Linked DNA regions of Homo sapiens: all the other regions are linked to region 2. The links are contacts of gene promoters, found by promoter capture Hi-C in blood cells and fetal thymus (Javierre and others, 2016). All regions are on one chromosome and are shown on one strand. Each heading gives the region's core, a stretch centred on a gene start or on the middle of the fragment in contact. The rest is flanking DNA. Distances are from core to core; before and after follow the strand shown.

Region 1 (3,665 bases), core at 502-3,001, 460 kb after region 2:
CGGCTCAGGGCTGCAGGCTGCCTGCTCAGCGCCGGCACTCGCAGGCCCATCCCTGCTGTGAGCAAACAGACCAGTAGCATCCCTGAGACAGAGATGGACACCACTCCTGGGTAGGAGGGCAGGCTATGGACATCCGTTGCTGGAAAAGCTGGGAAGAGGGCTGGCAGTGGAGACGCTTCAGGTGCACCGTGTGGACAGACAAGGTTGCAAGTGATGCTGGTCCTCAAGGTATCAGGTGTGAGTCATCCCAAAAGGACCCTGCCTAAGAGGGTGGCCTGTCAAGAGGAGCCTTCTGGGGGCACAGCAGGGCCAGGAGTTGAGACATAGGAGGTTGCCCAGAAAGTGTGGGATGCAGCTTAGGCAAAGTGCAGAGGGTGAGCCCCATATCTCCCAAAAGAAGACCACAGATGCCCTAGCCTCTCTCCCCCACGCCCTGTCAGGGCCACCATGAGGGATGACCCTCTGTAGCCACAGGGTTGAAACTGCTGAAAATCAAACACAAGTCCTCACCATGTGACTGGCTGAATTACAGCAAAAGCTGAACTCCCAGCCTCCCAGGATGTCTACTATTAAAGTGAGGGTATTGATTGGGAGAGGATGACAACCTGTAAATTGGGATGGGGGTGTATGGGAATATCCTGATGAAACTGGGAGACATTGAGCTCCTAAATTCTGATGAATTCTCTTTGCCCACGGGAGTTGTCTTCCCATCCACAGCAAAACTAGCCTCCCCATCCCCAGGGGAAGCAGCCTTCACACCCTTCGTGGTGTTGGCCTTGGCCTGAGGAGATTAACCCTGCATTGCTGGAGGAAATGATAAAGACCTCCCCTGAGGCAGTTGTCATGCAAGACAATGCTGAGTTTCCTTAGGACCCACCTGTCTTTACTAGACCTATAACTAGACTCAAGGCCCAGCAGGCCCCCAAAGGTGAGGACATAGCAGGACCCAGGAGGAGGTGTGCCACAATCCAAAAGAACTACTTGAGTTTTCTAATTCATACAGGCAGAAATCCAGTAAATGTGTGGAAATGGATCTTAAGGATCCATTAAACATGCAGGATAATGGTGGAAAGACCATAAAGTCGGATCAGGCCAAATGTATTGATGTGGGCCCACTAAGCAGAGATTCTGCACTGAATGCTGCAGCCCTGGGCGTGTAAAAAAGACCTAATAGTTTAGTTGGTTAGGGGAAACAGATTAAAAGGCGGCCTACAATGAGCAAGTTGGAGGTGCCAGATATCCCTTGTTTTAATGTAGAGGAAGGGAATTGAAGAGATTGGAATTAGAGTAGATTTGCCATTTTAGACATACTTACCCACACTAGTCCAGACACACCTTTCACCAATATTGTAAGAAATGGGTTTGTGAGGGGAGCCCCAGCATCCTTCAAGAGCTGTTTCATTGCTTTTCTCTCTGGGCAGACCTTACAGTGGGAACCACAGTCACTCAATTGGAAAATTAAATGCAATGACAGCAACTGATCTCAGGGTGGGAGGAGCCAAGAGGGGAACTCAACCACCTAAGACAAGGTGGGTGTGACTACCATAATGGACAGAAGAGACAAAGTAACAATCAGAATAGTCTGACTTGTGTGAATATGTGATGTTGGATAGTTGATTATGGCGTTCCTAGAAGTGAAATAGATAGGAAGCTTGTACTGAAGTCAACATTAAAAGGTAGAGACAAATCTCTAAATATAACATTTTATTTGGGATATAAGAATTGCAATTTGGGTCATACACACAGACCAGGTGTTTTTCAGTATGTCCAAAGAACAAAGAGCAGGTTGGGGATTTTATAGAATAGAGGAATGTTGCTCGTGGTCTTGAGAGAAAGTTTATTTGTATTAGTAAAGCTTTGGGACTAGCAAGCTGATTGGTGAACGATAGCAGTGGACACAATGAGCCCTACATTGGCGGCAAGATATTCCACAAGCTATAGACAAAACTGGTCTCAGGTTACAATAGACAGTTTTGGCTGCTGGACTTGCAGAAAATTGCATTTCTGAAGCGATGTTATAAATCCTGAGTGTTTTTCCCTCCTTGGCCCTCAACTCAGATTTAATTGGGTGTGACAAGAATCACACATTTATGATCAACTTTCATACCTATTAAATTCTTAATCTGTATAAGCAGAAAACTTCCAGGTCGAGTTAACAAAAATCTTACTTGAATCATGAAAATAGAACATCATGGTCCATGCAGGGGAAGCACAGTCCCCTCCAGAAAGGATCCTGTATGCTATCAAAAACCTCTACTGTTAATCTTTCTCTCAGCCTTCCCTAGAGAGACCTTTGACCTTTTACCAGGGTCATTGTGTACTAGGAAAAAGAAAATAATCAGACCTCTCAGGCACTCTGGGACACTGGCTCTGAACTGACATTCATTCCAGAAGACCAGAAGCATCCCTGTGGCCCTCCAGGGGCTTACGGAGGTCAGGTGGTCAAGGGAGTTTTAGCTCAGGTCCATCTCACAGTGGGCCCATTGGGTCCCCAGGCTCAGTCTATGCGGTTATTTCCTAAGTTCCAGAATGCATAATTGGAACATACTGTCATGTGTCACTCACCGAACGGTGGGGATACAGTCTGAGAAGTGCATCATTAGGTAATTTAGTCTTTGTACAAGCATCATAGAGCATACTTACACAAATCTAGATGGTATAGCCTCCTCCATACTAGGCTATATAGGATAGCCTATTGCTCCTAGGCTATAAACCTATATAGCAGGTTACTGTACTAAATACTGTAGGCAACTGTAGCACAATGGTATTTGTGTATCTAAACATAGAAAAGGTACAGCAGGCCGGGCGCGGTGGCTCGTGCCTGTAATCCCAGCACTTTGAGAGGCCGAGGCAGGTGGATCACCTGAGATCAGGAGTTCGAGACCAGTCTGGCCAATATGGTGAAATCCTATCTCTACTAAAAATACAAAAATTATCTGGGCGTGGTGGGTGGTGGGTGCCCGTAGTCCCAGCTACTCAGAAGACTGAAGCAGGGGAATCACTTGAACCCAGGAGGTAGAGTTTGCAGTGAGCCAAGATTGCGCCACTGCACTCCAGCCTGGGCGACAGAGTGAGACCCCATCTCAAAAAAAAAGGAAAGAAAAAAGAAAAGGTAGAGCAAAAGTATGGTATTATAATCTTATGGGACCACCATCATATATGCTATCCACCATTGAGCGAAATGTTATGTGATACGTGGCTGTACTTAGTAGCTAGCAGAGTACCATGTTGGTTCCCTGAGGACTCTTCTGATAGGCAAATCCAAATGAAAGCCACTGAAGCTGCCTTTGCCTAAGAAAACCAAAAGCATTGCTGCATTCTAGAGAGACTGCAGAGATTCGGAGATTAGCACCAGCATCAAGGACTTAAAAGATACAGGAGTGGTGATTCCCACCACATCCCCATTCAACCCTCCTATCTGGCCTGTGCTAAAGAGAGATAGATCTCAGACAATGACAGTGGCTTCTTGTAAGCTTAACCAAGTGGTGACTCCTATTGCAATTGTTGTACCAGCTGTGGTTTCACTGCTTCAGCAAATTAACACAGTAAGCAGCTATTGATCTGACAAATGCCTTTTTCTCCATGTCTTTCTGTAAGGTTCACCAGAAGCAGTTTGCTTTCAGCTGGCAAGGCCAGCACTACCCCTCCACTGTCCTACCTCAGAA
Region 2 (4,108 bases), core at 1,399-3,898:
GCTTCTCACACTGGCTGCTCCCTGACACCTACTTCCTCCCTCTGCTCTGTGTCCCCGCCCAGCACCCAAGCATTCCTGTGACCCTGTACAGCCAGTTGCACCATCCTCTGCTCAGAGCCTCTCTGTGGGTCCCACAGTCTTCATCAGGGCTTACATCACCTGACTCCACTCTAGGCCACCGGCCTCGGCACATACCAGATATATCTGGCTTCAGGGCTTTTGTCCTGGCTGGTTCCTCCATCTAGAGCACTGTTCCCCAAAATCACCCACAAAGCTTTTCCTTCACCTCCTCAGAGAGACCTCCCCTGGCCCACTCCTGTCCCACTCCATTATGTGTTTTTCATAACAATTTTCACAGCCTGACTTATGTTAAGGGCCTACTTATTTGCACGTTGCCTTTGTCTGCTTCTAAACATTACATGAAAAGTGTTTGTCTCTTTTGTTCCCTGCTGTATCCCCAGCAGCTAGCATGAACCCGAATGCTGCCAACAACCAGTAAATGCTTTTGGAAAAAATAATGGGTGTACAACGGAAGTTTGGATGGAGGAAAACCTGCAAAGCCTTTCACAGACTAACCCCAGCCATGGCAGCAGTGCTCAAGTGTTCCCTGTGGATAGAGGGTCTGAGGGCCACAGAGCCAAACAACACGGTCCACTCACCATCCCGGAAGCTTGCTTGAGCCTGACGTAGACTGTGAGGAACTAGGATTCCAAACCAGTTCAGGGGGTCCTGAGGGGCCTCAGAGGACTCCGGTTCTGGGGTCTTAGTGGGGCCCTTGCGCCTCCGCAGACCTGAGGAAAGAAAGGTTGGAGGAGGCTGGGATCTTACTCCCTGACCTTTATCATCTTGGTGACAATGTTGAGCTTGATCTGAGCTCATGATTCTATAAAACACTGTTGGTTGGAAAATTCCAACTTTGGGGTTCCAGGAAACAGCTTACCACAAAACACAGCCTTTCCCCTTGTGATTCAGATGAGACTGTTTGTCCACTCTTTCCCGTGACTCCTGTAAGACCCACTGATGACCCTGTTTGCCTGTGACACTGATCTTACCCATTGTACCTGAACATGCCAACAGACCAGACATAGACGTTCCAACTCCCCATTCTTTGTCTCAGGATGATTAACTGGGATTAGAAGTTTGTCCCTCTGAAACTAGCTAGACACACAGATAAATATTTTCTGTTCAGCTGACTGAAATGTATGTGATTGTAAATCTATTCCCAGTGTAAAGCAACTCACCAACAATTTCTCTACTTCCTATAAAAGTCTAAGGCAAAACCACCCTACAAAAACATTCTGTTCTTCTGCTCTGGGATGCTCTCTCTTATCGCAAAAACCTAATTTAAATCATCTCCATAATTTGCATTTTGTCTTTGACACTGGGAAGGGGTTCTGCAGAAGGAAGAGGGGGCTCACCTGCTTCGCGAGGCCCCACCTCCTCTGGGGCGTGGACACCAGCTCTCACCACCTTGAACTTCTGGAGTCCCTCCTGGGCCTCGCTGAAGGACGAGAAGGGAGGATGGAGCTTTGGCAGCCCGGGCCTAGAACGCGCCCGCCCGCCCACCCAGCCCAGCATGGAAGCTTCCTCACCTGGCGTGGAGGCAGACCTGGGGCTCCATGTGGGAAGCATACTGCAGGGGCCCTACCGACTTGGCGCCCATCGCGTAGCGAGCCTTGGCGAGCGAGAGCCAGCCCTGCAGGGAGAGGAAAGCGGTGAGACTCAGTTTACGCCCGTGTACCCTCCTGCCCGCCCCAGGCGCCTACCTCCTCCACCCGGGCGTTCAACACCGTTCGTTTCCCCTCCAGCTCCTCCAGGTCCCCAAGCAGCTGCAGGACCAGCGAATCCAGCTCCGCTCGCAGGTCAAGCGCCGCCATGGACACACCTCCAGATCTGGAGCCACCTTCTTCCTTGTCACCCTCCGCAGTTTGGCAGGACAGCCAATAGGCACACGAGATCCTCCATCAAGGGGCGTTCCCATCTGGGGATCCCCACGCCGGCAGCACCAAGGCCTCTGGGTCAGCTTCTTTAAGGGCAAGCGCCCTTAGAGAAGCAGCACGGAAGCAACCAATCAACTGGTTTCTCCAATTAGCCCCCAAGTGGATCAGCCTGCTGAACTGTCGGCTAGGGTTATAGGTGGTTCTGAGTCCTTCCGGAAGCTGCCGAATCTTAGAAGTCGCGCCACTGTTGTGGCGATGGAAGAAGGCGAAGCTCTACAGAAACCATTTTGGTTGAGGGAAGAGTGGTTTTAAAGTTAATTTGGAAAGGAGCCGGCAAGCAACCTTCAGTCGGTGTGCGGTTTTTACAGTTGAACTGTTTCCAGCCGCTAATTATGATTGTTTTAGCGGTTCGTCATCTGAAAACTGCATTCTGCACGGCGGTGGTGGGGGGAGGACGAGGATGGAGAAGCCTGGGCGGACATATTTATTAGCTGCGGTCCTAAGTCACGTGTGACATTCTGTATCCAGTCTATCGGTTATCCCAAGGAGAACGCCCTGCCGGAATGGCCAATCGCCTTGAGATGTCCCCGCCCTATTCGCCATCTTAACATAGGGCATTCCCCACAGCTGCAGGCACCAGTGAAGCGTCTAAGGGACCATCTTGGTTGAGGGCGGAAGTGAGGACTGTGTCGCGCTGGAGGAGCCCACAGATTCTCCCGGACCCACGTGGAAGCGGCACTCAAGATGGTAGGAGAATGAGCTCCTGTTTCGGAGGTCCGGGGCGCGTGAAGTGCTGGGGATGTGGCTCTGGGGACTTGGAGGCTCAGCGGCTCCGGGGCTCCGGGGTTCCGGGGCTCGGGAGCGAGTAGTGAGTGACTGGGCCTGCTGTTCCCACAGCTGCGCCGCGAGGCCCGCCTGCGCCGCGAGTACCTGTACCGCAAGGCCCGGGAGGAGGCGCAGCGCTCAGCCCAGGAGAGGAAGGAGCGGCTGCGGCGCGCGCTGGAAGGTAAGGCATCGGCCCCGCGGGCGTCTGCGTGGTAAACCACCCCGGCACGCATTTGTGTTCGAATATCCGAGCGTCTTTCCAAATGCTTGCCGGCCGTTTTCCTTGCCCATTGGGTTCTCCTGTTGGTTTTGAGAGTGTTTCTTCCGTGTGATGGTATTAATTACTTGTCACTGACGTTGCAGTACCCGGGTTTTGCAGCTTGCCCGCTGTGTGCAGTGTGTCAAGTTCGTCCCAAGTTTTAAAGACTTTATCTTGTCCTGTAGAAATTCTCTTTAGAGCGGTGGCTCACTGCTGTAATCCCAGCACTTTGGGAGGCCGAGGCGGGCGGATCATGAGGTCAGGAGTTCGAGCCTGACCAACATGGTGAAATCTCGTCTCTACTAAACATACAAAAATTAGCCGGCCGTGGTGGCACGCGCCTGTAATCCCAGCTACTCAGGAGGCTGAGGCAGGAGAATCGCTTGAACCCGGGAGGCGGAGGTTGCAGTGAGCCGAGATCCTGCCACTGCACTCCAGCCTGGGCAAAAAAGCAAGACTCCGTCTCAAAAAAAAAAAAAAAAAGAAATTCTCTCTAAAGACTATCTGGATAGCGCTGGTGCTGCAGACTGCGCTGCCCATCCTCCCTGCAGGAGTTCCTCTGAGCTCCGTGGGGAACAGTGCTGGCCCCGAGTGCGCACCTGGAGCGCTGTGCTCTGCGGTAGGCAGCCTGTGGTCCAGGGCCCGCTGAAGCCATGCCTTCGAAGCGCTGTGGGCATCGTGACCAACGGTTTTGCTGTCTGAGAGCTTAAAGGTCTCTGGTCCACCATCATACGTACAGAACAGTCTATATTTCTTTTCAAAAGTAATTTTTAAGGCCGAGCGCTGTGGCTCACGCCTGTAATCCCAGCACTTTGGGAGGCCGAAGCGGGTGGATCACGAGGTCAGGAGATCGAGACCATCCTGGCTAACACGGTGAAACCCCGTCTCTACTAAAAATATAAAAAATTAGCCGGGCGCCGTGGCGGGCTCCTGTAGTCCCAGCTACTCGCCAGCCTGAGGCAGGAGAATGGCGTGAACCCAGGAAGCGGAGCTTGCAGTGAGCCGAGATGGCACCACTGCACTGCTCTGCCTGGGTGACAGAGCGAGACTCCGTCTCAAAAAAAAAAAAAATCGATGTTTAGAT
Region 3 (4,134 bases), core at 533-3,032, 470 kb before region 2:
CATGTGTGACTCCCTCCAGGCCCTTCAAGAAGAAATTTAGAACAAAGGATGGTAGTCCAGAATTCAGTCTTCAGTTCCCCCTTATCAGAGGTCTATGTGCCACAGATCAGTTCGGTGGGGGTCTGGGTTTCTGAAAAACAACTCAGGAACGTATGTCAAGATGTTAAGTTCAGTTTCTATAGGGGAACCAAGTATCTGACTCTAACTTCCACTTCCTTGGCCTGTTGTTTTAGACTACTATTACCTTCTTGCTTATCAAGCTGCTCATTTACTTCTCAGGGCTAGCTGGGTGCTAGCTTAGGCTAGTCTTGAACTCCTGAGCTCAGGTGATCCACCTGCCTCAGCTTCCCGAAGTGCTGGGATTCCAGGTGTGAGCCACTGCACCCGGCCTAGCCAGGTTTTTTGTTTTTGGGTTTTTGTTTTTGTTTTTTTTTTTTGAGATGGAGTCTCACTCTGTTGCCCAGGCTAGAGTGCAGTGGCATGATCTCTGCTCACTGCAACCTCCACCTCCCGGGTTCAAGCAATTCTCCTGCCTTAGCCTCCCAAGTAGCTGGGACTACAGGCACCCACCACAACGCCCGGCTAATTTTTGTATTTTTAGTAGAGACAGGGCTTTACCATGTTGGCCAGGCTGGTCTTGAACCCCTGACCTCAGGGGATCTGCTCACCTTGGCCTCCCAAAGTGCTGGGATTACAGGCGTGAGCCACCACACCTGCCCACCAGGTTAGTTTTTAATTAATCAGCCCATAATAGAAGAAGGAAAGAACATACCTAAGACAGATTGGCATATTAGTCATTCAGTTCCAATGCTGATACACACATGGCTACACAACCATACACATACATGTGCACACACATCTGACACACACTCACCTACAAACACACACACACATACACATGAGCACATATCTCTAAGGCAATTCATATATTCTAAAATACTCAGAGTAATTGATCATAAAGTGCTATCTATTTATCCATCAACTGTAATCACCATTGTCGTGTCTAAAACCCCCACTGTTTCACCTAAAATGTTAAATACTGCCTTTTGTTTTCTTGCTGTCTCTTTCACCAAGTAAGTTTAATTCCCGCTGGCAAAGGAAAAAGTTACACACACATGCATGCACGCACACACACACACATACACATAGAATTTCTCCAAGAATATTGTTAGGATTATCTCACCTGAGAAGGGAGAGTGAGAATCATGAGAAAGCTGAAAATGTTAAGATTGGATTTATTGTTTTGCGGAAAGGGAGTAGCTGAAACTCCCTAGTAATGAGCAGAAGCTTTGTTTTCGGTTCTGTGATATTAACCTTTATTTCACTAAGATAAAGCTGACAAAATTAGAACCCCTCACTTGCATTACAACTACACGGGGGTGGTGGGTCCATGAGGAGCAGACCCCCTACGTGACCACAGGAGCAGCAGCAGGACAGAGGACCCTCCAGGGTCGCCAACAGGGACATCTTGGCCCAGACATCATGGACAGGGTCCCCCTTGGCTCACCCGACCAGGCAGGTAAGACTGTGGGGCCAGCAAAGCTCGTCACCTCACTCAGGGACAAAGACATCCTGCCCAAGCATGGGAGTTGGAGGTGAGGATGAGTGCCAGGTGCCTTCTTTGCCCCCTGTACCCCTAACAAATAACTTTCTAATGCAAAGACCCAGCCTTAGAGGTGCTCGTCGTGATCAGCACGTGGGGGAGTGTGGGAAGGACTGGGTTAGGACACACACAGACACACACCTAAGGCAACACTGAAAGAGCTCTCCTCCCCACCCCTGAGGCCACAACTGGGGTTCTTGCTGACAGGGGCACCCACAGCATCTAAAAGGAAACCATCGCTGCCTTCTGCTCAGCAAAGATGACCCCATCCTCCCTCCAGAAGGAGAGCGGTTTCTGGAGAGGCCCTCCCAGGACCCTGCCCTTGCTGCACTCAGGTCCCTGGTGTTTGGATTTCTGCTTCCAAATTGTTTAAGCACAGGGCCTCTCATCTTTTCCCCCAAAGTGAAAGAAACCTCAGTGGATGCTTGGAAACCACATCAGGAGGCACAGGCGATTACATGTCCCAGAGCCAACACTTGTACATTCCCAAGCAGAGACCAGCTGCTAGAATGGCTTCTAAAGAGCCTGGTATCCCTGGAGCAACAGAATCCAGTGGCACATAAAAGTAAACCAAAGGCTAGTGTTGGAGGAAGCACACCCACCACTAACAAAGGATGCACAGTGGATCCTTTAAGACGCTTAAAGGACTCTTGGCCTCCAAACCTCACTTCCACAAAAGCTTATTTTTCTTCTCACAAGGTTTGTGTGTCCCTCCCCCAGCGTTTCTAAGACCTGGCTGATGTTTACAGTTCACTGTCATGTGTCTCTCACTTTCATCTGTATGAATTTCCCCAGTGTTAAAGAATCCATTGCGCCCCCCAACCAACTCAAGCACAGAGGTCGTTCCTTCTGGAAAGAGTCCCAATCCCAGCCTTGAGGATGAGGCTGGCATCCTCCCGCTGGCCGGGTCTTCTCCGCGAATTGGGATCTGCCTCCTGGGAGGATGATACCCGTGGCTGCTGCTCTGCGTGGCTCACCTTGGCCAGGAGCTAGATTCCTGCTGGTGGGAAATGCATAGCCTACTTGCTGCACCCAAGCGCCTGGAGCTTTCATTCTGCAGCAGTTTCTTCAGGAAAAAGGTCATCCCTAAAGGTCAAAGGATACCAAGTTTATAACTTGAGTTTATAATGTATTCAAATTTTTTTTTTTTTTTTTTTGAGATGGAGTCTCACTCTGTCACACAGGCTGGAGTGCAGTGGCGCAATCTCCGGTCACTGCAAGCTCTGCTTCCCACGTTCCTGCCATTCTCCTGCCTCAGCCTCCCGAGTAGCTGGGATTACAGGCACCCGTCACCATGCCCGCCTAATTTTTGTATTTTTAGTAAAGACAGGGTTTCACCTTGTTGGCCAGGCTAGTCTCAAACTCCTGACCTCAAGTGATCCCCCAACCTCAGACTCCCAAAGTGCTGGGATTACAGGCGTGAGCCACCATGCCTGGCCTTAAACTTTTTAATTATGAAAATGACACACATGGAAAAGTGCATAAAACATATATTTATAATTCACCCAATAATAGTAAAAGTCATGCCCAACCACACCGAGGTGAAGACCTAGAGCCTGCCAAAGCCAAGGTTCTCTCCCTGACCCCTGCCTCAACCCCCATGGTGCCCACCATCTTGACTTTTACCATAGTCAATTCCTTGCTGTGTTTCATTTGTTCACCTGCATATGCATCCCTACACAACGTACGGTATTCATAACATCTGTAAATTTTTTTTTCTTTTTTTTTTTCTCTGAGATGGAGTCTCCCTTTGTCGCCCAGGCTGGAGTACAGTGGCACGATCTCGGCTCACTACTGCCTCTGCCTCCTGGGTTCAAATGATTCTCCTGCCTCAGCTTCCCGAGTAGCTGGGACTACAGGCATGCACCAACATGCCCGGCTAATTTTTGTATTTTTAGTAGAGATGGGGTTTCACCATATTGGCCAGGATGATCTCGATCTCTTGACCTCATGATCCACCCACCTCGGCCTCCCAAAGTGCTGGGATTACAGGCGTGAGCTGCCGAATAAAATCCTAAGTCCCCTGCCAACTGAATGTACCCCCCTCTTGGGCAAAAGGACCCCAGAAAAACCTTAAAAACTGAGTTCTCAGCCATGATAGGATGGGAGGTCAGACATGCCTCATTATCCCCCCTCCCTTTTACTTGTAGTATACACACAACAACTGACCAGCATTCGTGTTAAAATAGAGGCCGTATGACTGACAGAACAGGCTCTGTGGCAATAAGATGCCACATTATAAACAGGACCCGAGGCCATGTCAGGCGAGGGTTAAGTCCCACACCCCTAAGCTTTAAAGAATAAACTATTTTCTAACTGTCATAAGGTTCTTCTTTTTCTCTAGCAGCAAAACAAGCACTGGCCATGAGATAAACAATGTTAAAGCAATTTGTAGCTCACCATTAGACAATGACTAACTAAGCCCGCTGTTTCATCAGCCATAACTACAGCTTTGATTGGACAAGAAATGGATTTCAATAACTTTCTCCAGATAAGAAAACCAACCACCACAGACTGGTTCTGGCCAGTTT

The links. Contacts are between HindIII fragments. The CHiCAGO score rates a contact against its expected background, and 5 or more counts as called.
Region 1: a contact is called between a fragment that was not itself captured here and the fragment with the promoter of IMP4 in region 2, in 3 of 17 cell types (non-activated CD4 T cells, naive B cells and total CD8 T cells). The highest score is 8.1, in non-activated CD4 T cells.
Region 3: a contact is called between a fragment that was not itself captured here and the fragment with the promoter of IMP4 in region 2, in 1 of 17 cell types (total B cells). The highest score is 6.5, in total B cells.

Annotation. Positions count from the first base shown.
Region 1 is chr2:130,799,035-130,802,699 of GRCh38, forward strand. No RefSeq gene overlaps it. Among named protein-coding and RNA genes, the nearest start is that of ARHGEF4, 36 kb to the right of the region's middle. The HindIII fragment of the contact is 204 bases long and covers 1,650-1,853 here.
Region 2 is chr2:130,340,249-130,344,356 of GRCh38, forward strand. IMP4 (IMP U3 small nucleolar ribonucleoprotein 4) reads left to right here and starts at 2,649. Exons shown (of 9, transcript NM_033416.3): 1 at 2,649-2,687; 2 at 2,838-2,946. The coding sequence starts at 2,685. VMA22 (vacuolar ATPase assembly factor VMA22) reads right to left here and starts at 1,916. Exons shown (of 5, transcript NM_032357.4): 1 at 1,767-1,916; 2 at 1,593-1,696; 3 at 1,419-1,501; 4 at 660-791. The coding sequence starts at 1,877. RefSeq lists enhancers at 1,832-2,381, 2,512-2,681. The HindIII fragment of the contact is 8,635 bases long and covers 1,582-4,108 here.
Region 3 is chr2:129,866,847-129,870,980 of GRCh38, forward strand. LINC02572 (long intergenic non-protein coding RNA 2572) reads right to left here. Exons shown (of 6, transcript NR_149127.1): 3 at 2,581-2,689. Among named protein-coding and RNA genes, the nearest start is that of LINC02572, 8.6 kb to the right of the region's middle. The HindIII fragment of the contact is 995 bases long and covers 1,286-2,280 here.